2 separate regions of the Homo sapiens genome follow, and region 2 is linked to region 1. Evidence: promoter capture Hi-C in 16 types of primary human blood cells and fetal thymus (Javierre and others, 2016). All regions are on one chromosome and are shown on one strand. Each heading gives the region's core, a stretch centred on a gene start or on the middle of the fragment in contact. The rest is flanking DNA. Distances are from core to core; before and after follow the strand shown. Region 1 holds the start of GPR22 (G protein-coupled receptor 22). Region 2 overlaps SLC26A4 (solute carrier family 26 member 4).

Evidence for each region. Contacts are between HindIII fragments. The CHiCAGO score rates a contact against its expected background, and 5 or more counts as called.
Region 2: a fragment that was not itself captured here is called in contact with the fragment with the promoter of GPR22 in region 1 in 2 of 17 cell types (naive B cells and naive CD4 T cells); the score reaches 5.8 in naive B cells.

The regions. Positions count from the first base shown.
Region 1 is chr7:107,467,609-107,473,514 of GRCh38, reverse strand. GPR22 (G protein-coupled receptor 22) reads right to left here and starts at 3,458. Exons shown (of 3, transcript NM_005295.3): 1 at 3,070-3,458; 2 at 1,213-2,143. All of the region lies in intron 6 of COG5 (component of oligomeric golgi complex 5), which reads left to right. The HindIII fragment of the contact is 4,703 bases long and covers 417-5,119 here.
Region 2 is chr7:107,704,766-107,709,981 of GRCh38, reverse strand. All of the region lies in intron 18 of SLC26A4 (solute carrier family 26 member 4), which reads right to left. Among named protein-coding and RNA genes, the nearest start is that of CBLL1, 37 kb to the left of the region's middle. RefSeq lists a silencer at 1-118. The HindIII fragment of the contact is 6,874 bases long and covers 1-5,214 here.

The sequences.
Region 1 (5,906 bases), core at 2,209-4,708:
CCATGTTGATTGAATTCATATTCAGAAGTCAACAATGTGCTTGGTGATATTTGGGGTTATTTCCCACAGAAATAGGCCAGTGATTAATATTTTACATATCACAGTTACAATGCTCACTGAACTTTGCAGTTGGCAAACTTAAAAATTAGAAGAAGTGGGACATTATGCTAAAATAAAAAGCTACAAAGCTTGGTAAAAGAGCATTAATCACTCCTATGAAATGATTTATTTTGTGACCACACCCTCTTGTATCTTGTGGAAACAGAAAATTGAAATTTAATATCACATTAAGAAATAGCCATTTTTGAAGTAGTTTAAAGGAATATATCAGTTGACATTGTTTAAACTGAGTTTTTAAAGTAAAAGATGAAATTTTAGGGAAAAGGAGTATGTGAAGCCCGTTTTTTGAGGAAGCTTTTAAAGTTACACATTACCTGTGAAGCCTTTTGTATATATCACCCATTGTCTAATTTTGAAGAAAAATTAAAAAAAAATACAAACGCTTTTGCTAATTCATGCAAATCTATATTTTAATATATAGGGGTTTAGAATAATTTGTAAAAAATAATGTCTAATGTTCTGGGCTAAAATGTCAGTTAATCAGTATATTCATTTTAAAATATGAACTCATACAACCAACTATATTTCACATTTCAAATACAGCATTTCAACTGCAAAATCATATTCAACATAAATTATAAAAGCTAATAATTTTCAAAATTCATGTTAACTTTCACTTAATGTTATATTTGACAAGTTTTAGAATACAGTTTTATTTATGAACTTTTTTGGGAATAATATTGCAGAAACACAAATGGTAACATTATTTCTTTTGAATTAGTATGAAGTATTACTAGAGGTATATTTATTCGAGTAAGTTAAGGTCTTAGCTAACATTGAAATCCTATAAAAATGGAAAATTTTAAGTGTGCCAAATTTTCTGAACTGACAGATTAAACATCAGGTCTTTGTCACATCAGTTAGATTTATAATTAAATAAAGCAGAAATGTCAAGTTAAATGATGATTAAGAAAAATACATTTTCTCTAGAGCAAGATTCTGTTCTTTCGTAAATGTTAAACAGTGTGGTGGGGTGCATGCATCTTCTGACCTACCTGTTTGCTGTTGCCTTATGGGCCTTTTGGTTCACTATGACAGTTTTTGGCAAATTGATACATGATATCATTGACAGATTTTGACATGAATTTTTACCTGACAACAGTGAAGTAGCTGTGTTTTATTTCATGTCTTGTAGGAATTCTTTCGTTTTCTCTCCAATACTTCAACTGCATGCATTATGAGATTTAGTTGGCTGATGGATTTCTAAAGAACAGTACATAATATTTGTATTTGTTTTGCTTTAAAAAGTCACGGCCAAGAGGAATTTCCTCAGATGATAGGAATTATGTTTCCCTTTGATGGAGTACATGATAATATTTCTTTATTTTCCAGAATATGTGAAAACAAAAAAGGAAACATAACGTTTGTAGCTTCTAAAATATATTTAGACATCCTTTTGTTACCATTGTAAATCTGTTTTTAATAGCAGTGCTCACTATTTTGAAATGATTTCTTGATCACATAACTTGCTTTATATTATAAATCCAGGCCATGTCCTTTTGATAAAAACCATCTGCTGTTTAATTTTGTTTGTTTTCATTAGAAGAGGATACATAATTGGTCATAAAAGTCAGATAGAAAAATCCATTAGTCATACCAATTGATATGAATATCTGAATATTTAGTGCAGAAAACACTTCCTAAATCTTCCTTTTGTGTGCTGATAAAGTATTTTCTTTTCTTTTTGGAAATTCATGTTTCATTATGTCTTCCAGAATCAGTAACTTCCACAATTCTGGTATATGAAAGTATAAACTTCCCCTTTTAAAAATTCTTTTCAGGCTTTTACAGTTATATTGTTTTTCTTTTTGTGGTTATTTTATGTAGCATCTTCTTAGGATACAGTTGATTTTTTATATTCCATCAGTAATGTAGACCTATTCCCTGGTTTTAACTCCTTAATGTCTTAAAGTCGTGTTACAAGAACATCTTGCAGTTCGTAGTTCAGACAGCTAGGGAGATGCTCAGTCAATTGCATTCTTCATATTGTCAGTTGTAAATACTGAATTAGCTGCTATTGGCCCTTGTGAAAAGAAGAAAATTGGTTAAGAAATAGGGTTTTTAATAATTTGTAATTAATTGCAAGTTACTTTAGTTTTGTTTAAAAACTATCCAGTATTTGTTATCAAAATAACCAAACTGTTATTATTAGAGCCACAGCTATATGCATAAAATTGTTTCTTTAAATAAGTCTTTTTTCCTAATAAAGATTGTATATATTATGTTATTTAACAATAGAGTTCACATTTCAAATACAATTGTGAGAGAAAAGCTATATTTTTTAAAACTAATTTCTGCTCTCATTTTAGAAGCTAACCTGTATTTTCAGAGATGATGAACAATTAGCATACACTAAACATACTGTTATTTCTTCTTTGTAATAAATTTAACAACATTTTTTGCTCTAAAAATATTGTAACTTGCCTAATTATTAGCACATGGTTTGAATTTTAACTCATTAAAACAGATTTCATAAGATACTATAAATTTCCATTGATGAATTGTTCATGTGGTTGAAATACAAAAGGTAATAAAAATTGTAACTGCAAATTAATTTTCAGTGAACATGCCAAATAATAAACTTAACATAAAATTAAGTAATAAGTAACAGCAAAATAGTAAACCTAGTTCTTTTAAGAAACAGAAGCATTTTTGAAACACTGGAGAAAAACTGTACTGATTACATTAAGAATATTTAGTATATCTGAAGTGACTCAAAAGCTGTCTTCATAATGAATTTACAAAGAATATTTGTATTTAACAATGCATCCTAAAAAATTACATTTAAAATGTAGCATGTCTTAAAAGAAATAGATCTTAAAATACATGTCTAGCAATAAGTAGAATTAAACAAACTCTTAAAATTTAGGCTGAAATTTTTCAAAGTAATTTTTACCCCACTATGCCGGTTCAAAAGCAGCTGTATACTATAATAGGAACAAATCTTACCTCTGCTAAAGATTTGATAAATTCTTGATGTAGTTGAAGCATTTCCAGTTTGGATTGATTCATTTTGTTCACTTGTTAGTAGAGGACTGGGGGAAGAGGGTCATAAACATCTCTTCGAAAATGACCTTAATGAAAATATGTGTCTGTAGTGTGCCATTGTTTCAGCAGTACTGCTAATGTATGGAACATGTAGTGCTGCTTAGAGGCTGCTGCAGTCTCTCACTCTTCCTACTGTGGAATCAATAAGCATCTGAAAATACATAATGAAAGTAATTTAACATACTGAAGGCTTCTTGTCTCCAGAGACAACATTTAGATTCAGTCTTTCTAAAAAGGAACGGCACTGCTTTTCAGAGGAAAGCCTGTTCGGGCAGCTTTTGCAGAATGACAGCCTACCTTGTCGCTTCTCTCCACTGCAGAGAGATGCAGTGTATTCACTAATTTTGATTGGTCAGTTGTATTGGGCTTAAACTGTGCTTCATATGTATAGCAGGGATTTCCCCCGCTCCCCACTGTTTTATATAAAGGACACTTTTAAAAAGGCTAAATTTATGAGTGGTTGTATGTTGTTCTTAAATAGAATATGTGTAAATTAGTATTTTAAAAATGTGTATTCTATTCTGGTTTGTTGGTCACTTATGCCAAACATTAAAAAAAAATGCAGGGAGGTGGGGGAACAGGAAAGAATTACATAGTAAAAAGTATATATGCTTTCTAAAGCCTTGATAATTGCATTTGAGAATATTTTAGTCATATATAGGTTTTTGATTGAGATTCTTTGTTCTACAAATAGAAACCCACTGCATCTTTACTGTGAGCCACAGTGAATTTTAAATAGTTTGTTTGTATTCAAGTCATCTTCTCTGGGTATTCCAAATTGTTGTGAGCATCTCAAGGTGTTAAACATTGTCATGACTTCAGTATTCATTCATTTGGGTATTCATTCATTTCATTCATTCATTCATTCAAAATAATAATCAGATTGACCTAAGGTGATAATACCCTAAAATATTTTTTAAACATTTCATTATAGTAGCTTAGTCTCGGGTATAAAACTTCAATCAGTAATCATTGTATTACTTTTGGAGATTACTACTTGGTCTTCACCTTTCATAACCCTTTTATTTGGTAGATGTATACTGATCATTTGCTATAATATTTTATTTCAATTGGCTTATTCTATTTTTGACCTGGGCACATTTCTTAGTAGATTGCTGTTTCTTAAATATGATATGTAGCTACACGCTAATATTGTTAGTAAAATATTATTTTAAAGGATAAAGTAAGTTACATGTCTTTATAAGTTATAAAGCCAAATCATTATAAGATAGATACATTTTCAAAATGAAAATAATGGTACAAGTACTGAATATTTAAAATTAAATATTTAAATATTTAAATTAAAAATTTTAAATTAAATTAAATTTAAATTAAATTTAATATTAAAAATAAAATTAAAATATTTAAAATTAAATTTCTGTTAATTTTAGTTACCTATAAATAAGTTCCTGTTTTTAATGATGAGGATAAATTTCTTTTAGACTTAAGTAGATAAAACAGCTGGACTCTGTTGACAAAATAGAGGACATTACATGTGGCTAAACTGTTAGAATGTTAATTATCACCTGTTTCCATTATTTTAGGAATATTTAGTGACCTTCATTTTTCAAAATGTATACTGGTTTTTATTTGCAATTGGAACTATTCTCTTATTATTTGAAAAGCCGTATGCATTTTTATAATCTTCCACTGGTAGTGTTGAATCTTTATAGGGGAATAGCTGACCAATATGAGTTGTGAGTTGCATTTCTATAGAAGTTGAGAGTAATATGGTGGAAAATTTTGTTGTGAATTTCTAAAATCTTCTGCACAGCTTTGGGTGGCAAGGCTTTGGTAATTCTAAAAATGAAAATGTTGTGCTGCTATTCATGCGTTTTGAAAGTTGGGGAAAAGGATCTTGCTAGAATGCCAGCCATTTATAAAGAAAACTTACACACACCGAAACACACACACACACACACACACCACAGCACACACATTCATTTAAGCTTAAAACTAAGACCAGAGAAAGCATAGCATCAGTGGAAATATGTGATGGGGATGAGGAGATTATTAACACAGCAGAGTGCTTTTCTGCCAGAGTTCAAGTATTTGCTTATGTTTATCATCAGAATATCCCCATGAAGTAGAAGAAACAAAGGTACAGAGAAATTTACTGACTTGAAAGGGTCAAGGTAAGTTAGCAGCAGAGTCAATGTTAAAACTGCAAACCACGCTGTACTAGGCGGTTGGCCTTCTCTCTTTGGAAAATTATGAAGGTCTTGGGACTTAGAATTGGATAATCTAGATTTAGTTGCTATTTATTACCTATATAACTTTTGGCAAGTCAAACATCCTTTGGGTCAACTTTGATTCCTTTTGTTGAAGTATATTTTTGTGCTTTGTTTAACTCTTTGTGAGACAGTGTTTTCAAGTTATATTCAGATTATTTCAAAAAAACAAAATCTGGGGTTTCTGAGCCATAATGGTAGCTCGAGCACAGACAGTGCTCTTTATTTTCTGTATGAGTAACTTGTCTCCAAGGATAAATAAGATATCACAAACTTTTTTTATTGTGTACAGTGCTTAGTATAATTTTATTTCCTTTTTAAAAACCACAAATTGGTGATTAACAAGGTATGCCGAAATCTTAACAAGGTAATTCCAACTTCCCCTGTTTTTAACAAATATGCAAATATCTCAACTACTGATTGAGAATCAGATTATATTATTTTCATGAAAAAAATTAATTACAGACCGGGTGCAGTGGCTCTCACCTGTAATCCCAGCACTTTGGG
Region 2 (5,216 bases), core at 528-3,027, 240 kb before region 1:
TCATTCTATTGCCCAGGCTGGAGTGCAGTGGCATCATTGCTCACTGCAACCTCCGCGTCCCAAGTTCAAGTGATCCCCCCACCTCACCCTCCCAATTAGCTAGGACTACAGGGCACACCCTACCATGCCCAGCTAAGAAAAGAAATTTTAAAGCATCAACCTATACTAAGTTTTTGTAGCTCCTCCTTTTATTTATTTATTTTTCTCTTATCCAAAATGTGACCCAGATTTGAAATGACAGTTTCTTTTCCAGTAGTATATAGAATGGTTATCCCATAACTGGTCGTAGTCAACCTTGTGGACGATCACGTCCCTTTGGCCAAGCCAGTGTATCCATCCTCCTGCTGCTGTGGGCCAGGCTGCCAATGTTTCACAGCTGTGCCCTTCTCTGGAGACTTTCCCTTGCCCGTTGGGAGCTGTGTCATCTAAAGAGGACTGGGTCTGTAATTCCAGCACTTTGAGAGGCCGAGGAGGGCAGATCACTTTGAACCCAGAACTTCTGGGCAATATGGTGAAACCCCATCTTTATAAAAAAATACAAAAATTAGCCAGGTGTGGTTGTGCACCTATAGTCTCAGCTACTCAGGAGGCTGAGATGGGAGGATCACTTGAGCCCAGGAGTTTGAGGCTGCAGTGAGCCACAGTTGCACCACTGCACTCCAGCCTGGGTGACAGAGCAAGACCCTGTCTCAAATAAATAAGTAAATAAAGAGAACTGGGAGGTTTCATCCCCACACATGGCTGGCCTGCAGCCACTGACTGACTCATTACTGGGGGAGAAAGCAGGTCCTCTTGCCTCAAGGAGGCATAACCTTCTGGTACTCTTCCTGTGGTGGTGCTCCCTGTGAAATCAGGGATCTACGCTGGACTTCAGAAACCATGTCTTTGATCAGCTTCTTCCCCTTCCCTATCCTGCTCCCCTCACTGCTTCATAAATTTCCTCAGATGTATTCTCAATAAATCGCTTGTGCAAGAATCCCCATCTTGGGCTCTGCTGCTAAAGAATTCAACCTAAGCCTTAGCACTTTCCTACACACATACATTCATAAAGAAACACACAGAGACTCACACCCTTGAGAGTCCTCCTGTTCTAAGGAATCTAAGTAATCTCCAGCTTTGCTCTCCTCATAACAACATCCCCCCATTGTCAATATTCACCCCACCCCCACCCACTGTCAAGATACACATTTCCATACATTACCAGCTCTGTGGCACAAATTGGAAGTAATATCTTTCTGGGTTCAAAATGTTCTCAGAGTTTTTATGCTTTTTGTTTTTTAAAAAAAAAATAATAGAGACGGGGTCTCACCATGTTGCTCAGGCTGGTCTCAAACTCCTGGCCTGAAGTGATCCTCTGACCTTTGCCTCCCAAAGTGCTGGGATTACAGATGTGAGCCGCCATGACCGGCCTATTTATTTATTTAAAACTTAACTCTAGCTTGGCAATCAGAGGTTATTTAAAGGTTGTTTCTAAATATGGACTTATGAAGGAAATCAAAACAAGGCAGGAAGGAACCACTAGGTAGGAAAGATGTGAGAAGAAATTTACAAGTATGAAGAGATAAAGAAAATTGAAAAGAGAGTAATTTTTTCTTTTGTATAGGAGATAACCTTATATGGTCAAAATGATAAGGAGAAAAGAAAAGTAAATCTTTGTCCTAAGGTACAATGCCAATTTTAAAAAAGGAAGTATAGGACCAAATGAAGGTTTAAGCAAGTTGTAGAAGGTTTGTAGAAGATAAATATCATGAAAAATTTTATGTGATTGAGTTGGCTAAAAGTAGAAGGGAATTATTTATAAGTTTTTCTAAAAATTGAGCATTAATATTAAAGTACACTGATGGAAGGCTAAAGTGTGGGCCTATGTGTTGGAACAATAGAGTTTTCTCAGAGGATTGGTTTACTCTTAATAGAAAATTGTGAGAGGATTTTCTCTTCCAGGTAACTGGCCTAGAAAACAGAGATTTCATGTTTCATCAATATAACTCTTCTTGTGCTTTTTGCCTTTGAACTCTTTTTTCACTTTGGTTTTATTTCATAGTGACCTATGATCCGATTTTGATCAAATGTTTTAAACCTTTGGTATTTGACAAACTTCTCAAAAATCAAAATTAAGTCTTTTTGACCTTGAACTAACTTTGGGATGTTCCAGAGGACCCTGGAATTTCTTAAAGAATCTGTAAAAGAGAGATGTTAAACCAAATGGCCTTATCTGATAGGTTAAATTATATGGGAAGCACTGTTAAAATAAGAAATGATGTTTAACTTTCTTTGTGCTATATTTTTATAGATATGTTATTAATATGTTCCAAAATTATATAACATTCCTAGAAATGTGATAGGTCTTGGTATAAATGCTACCAGTCATAATTTTGGTTATTTTAAATTGTTGTGTGCCACAGAAATATCCAAATATCCTTGTCAATTGGGTAACTCACATCAGATCTTTAAATATAGCCACTTTAAGTCTTGTTGTCCACAGTTAATTGTTTTGTTCTGATACTTTTTCTGAAAGCTCTTTGTAAGCCATTATAATTCTAAAGTGCTGTGACTTCAAAGAGTTATATGGGAAGAATGAAAAGAACTCTGACAAATACAGGTTTCTAATAACTTTGAATTCATACCATTCGTTGGAATTAAACTACCAGCCAAGATCAAACAGAGCAAGAATTAATTACATGAGACTGAATGAACTGATGGAGAAGAATTACAGGTTTTATGGCTTTTTTATTTGAAACATTGCTGGTTCTTTTAATATTTGTTTTCCAGATCTAAAGAAAATTTTTCTTTAAAGCTATCTGCAGTTTACAGCCACTTGGTTAAGCATACTTTTTTTTTATTTTTTGAGACAGGGTCTCACTCTGTCACCCAGGTTGGAGTGCAGTGGCACCATCTGGGCTCACTGCTACCTCCACTTCCCCAGCTCAAGTGATTCTCAGCCTCAGGCTCCATGCCCAGCTAATTTTTTGTATTTTTTGTAGTAACGGCGTTTTGCCATGTTGCCAGGCTGGTCTCAAACTCTGAGCTCAAAGCAATTGTCCGCCTTGGCTTCCCAAAGTGCTGGGATTACAGATGTGAGCCACCGCACCCAGCCTTGTTAAGCATACTTTCATAAACAAAAATTGAAACATTTGCTTTTCCTCTCTACCTGATCCTTCCAGAATTTGGAAACTCTTTGTGAGTATTCTTATTTTTATGGCAATATGATTATTTACATGAAAGTTCAATAGAATCTGTTCTTTTAAATAGAATACAATTGGAAAACATTGGTTATATTATCAAGGCTTTGAATAGAATATCATATTTGAAAATGTGCACAGAATTCCTGGCTTCAAGGGCTGCTAGCCTTACAATGAGTGAATAAAAAGTCGTTCCTTCCTGGGAGGCCCAGTAACTTCAAGATATTAGATACATCAGGCAAAGCCTAATGTCTGCCTTGGTTTGACTTCATAGCATCAAGACGTTTTAAAAAGTCCAATCTGAGATTCCTTGTCAAAATTTCTATCAAAGCAATTATTTTTTGGAGACATGGTCTCACTGTGTTGTCCAGGCTATAGTGCAGTGGCTATTCACAGGCACAATCATAGTGCACTGCAGCCTTGAATTCCTGGGCTCAAGCAATCCTCTCACCTCAGCCTCCCAAGTAGCTGGGCTCACAGGCAAGCAATACCTCGCCAGGCTTGGCAAAGCAAATTTGAAAGGAGTCACCTATGTAGTTATTCTTGCTGTACTGTGTAAATAATCAATCAGGCCAAGTTTGAGACCAAACTTATTTTGTAAACAAATTGGTCTACCATGATCGTCTTTGATAGAAATGGAGGTGACTATAGAAAGAAAAACATATGGTTCAAAAGAAAAGCATAGTAAAACTGTTCTTAGACTGTAGCCCTGTTCAATATTTATGAGTTTTTATTATCTACCTGTAGACTGAGCTGGATTCTTAATTCTTTTAGCTTTCACTAATATCTGGCTACAACACTCCAATGAAGACCAAGAACTACTCAGTTCCTGAAGCTCTGTAAGCTGAAGCTGAGCAACTCAGTGTAAATTTCAAGAGATGAATCTCATGCTTAAACTGTGGGCCACATAGAGAGTTCGCCAGAATGCTGGATGCCACAACTAGAGACAATAAAACTACAAACCAAAACAAGAAGTTGTCAACTTCATGCTGTAGACAGCTCCAAGACTGTCAGAACAAGACTCCCTATCATAAGATGCTTATCCCTTTTAATTTTCCCTTACTTGTGCCTACCTCTTTCACTTGGCAGGATAGTGCTGTAGTTAAAACTTCACAATGAGTAGCTTCTTTGGGTAACTTACACTTTCTGCTTTAATTTAACCAGTCATGGAATGCTAGATTACCTGCTAACTCAACAAGGAAGCATCTGTGCAGTTGGGTGACACTTCTTGTTCCACATATATAAATACATCAGGTACTACAGAGAAGACTTCTTGGTTAAAACAGGTAGTCTCCTTGTCAGGCTATTCAATTTTAGTTGGTTTGATTCATGAGAATCCTGGCTAAGGAGCATACTATAAACCCTTGGTATTATCTCCCTGATAGTCATAATAGCAGTCTTCCTGGTACATTATACCCTCTCAAAGTTTTAAATGTTTCCAAAAAGCCACCTGTCAGACATCGAATGGTCTCTCTCTGAAACAACAAAAACTCAGAGACATACATGATAATGAGGAGGGCACCATAAGCTACACATGACCTCCTGAGACCAGAAACCCAAAATGATGGTAACAGAGTAGCACTGATCTCCTACATTTTGTTCACTCTTACCTAGGTGAGAGCCTGATCAAAACGGGGAAAATCATCAAACAAAAATGGTAAAGGCCATTGTTTTAGTCTTCTTGAGCTTTGCCCTCCCAGAGCTTTGCAGCTTTTAGTAGCCAGAACGAAGGAGTAGAGCAGCCTTCGGTGGCTCAGGGGCCAAGCAGCTGTGCCCATCCTGGGGTCATGCAAGGCACAGGCACATAGTAAAATAAAAAATAAAAATAAAAGGCCATTGTTTTAGACTAAGCTCCCGCACTAGACGACAACAGACAAGACTAAAAATCAAAATGGAGTCACTCATGCTAAAGTTTCAAGTTATCAAACCTAAACTAAATTGTTATCTGATACTTGAAGAAATCAGGAGAGAGAGGTAATAGCAAATTTCCTAAAACAGGACAGTTTAAATTTCCAGTTGGCATAATAATAAAGCTTC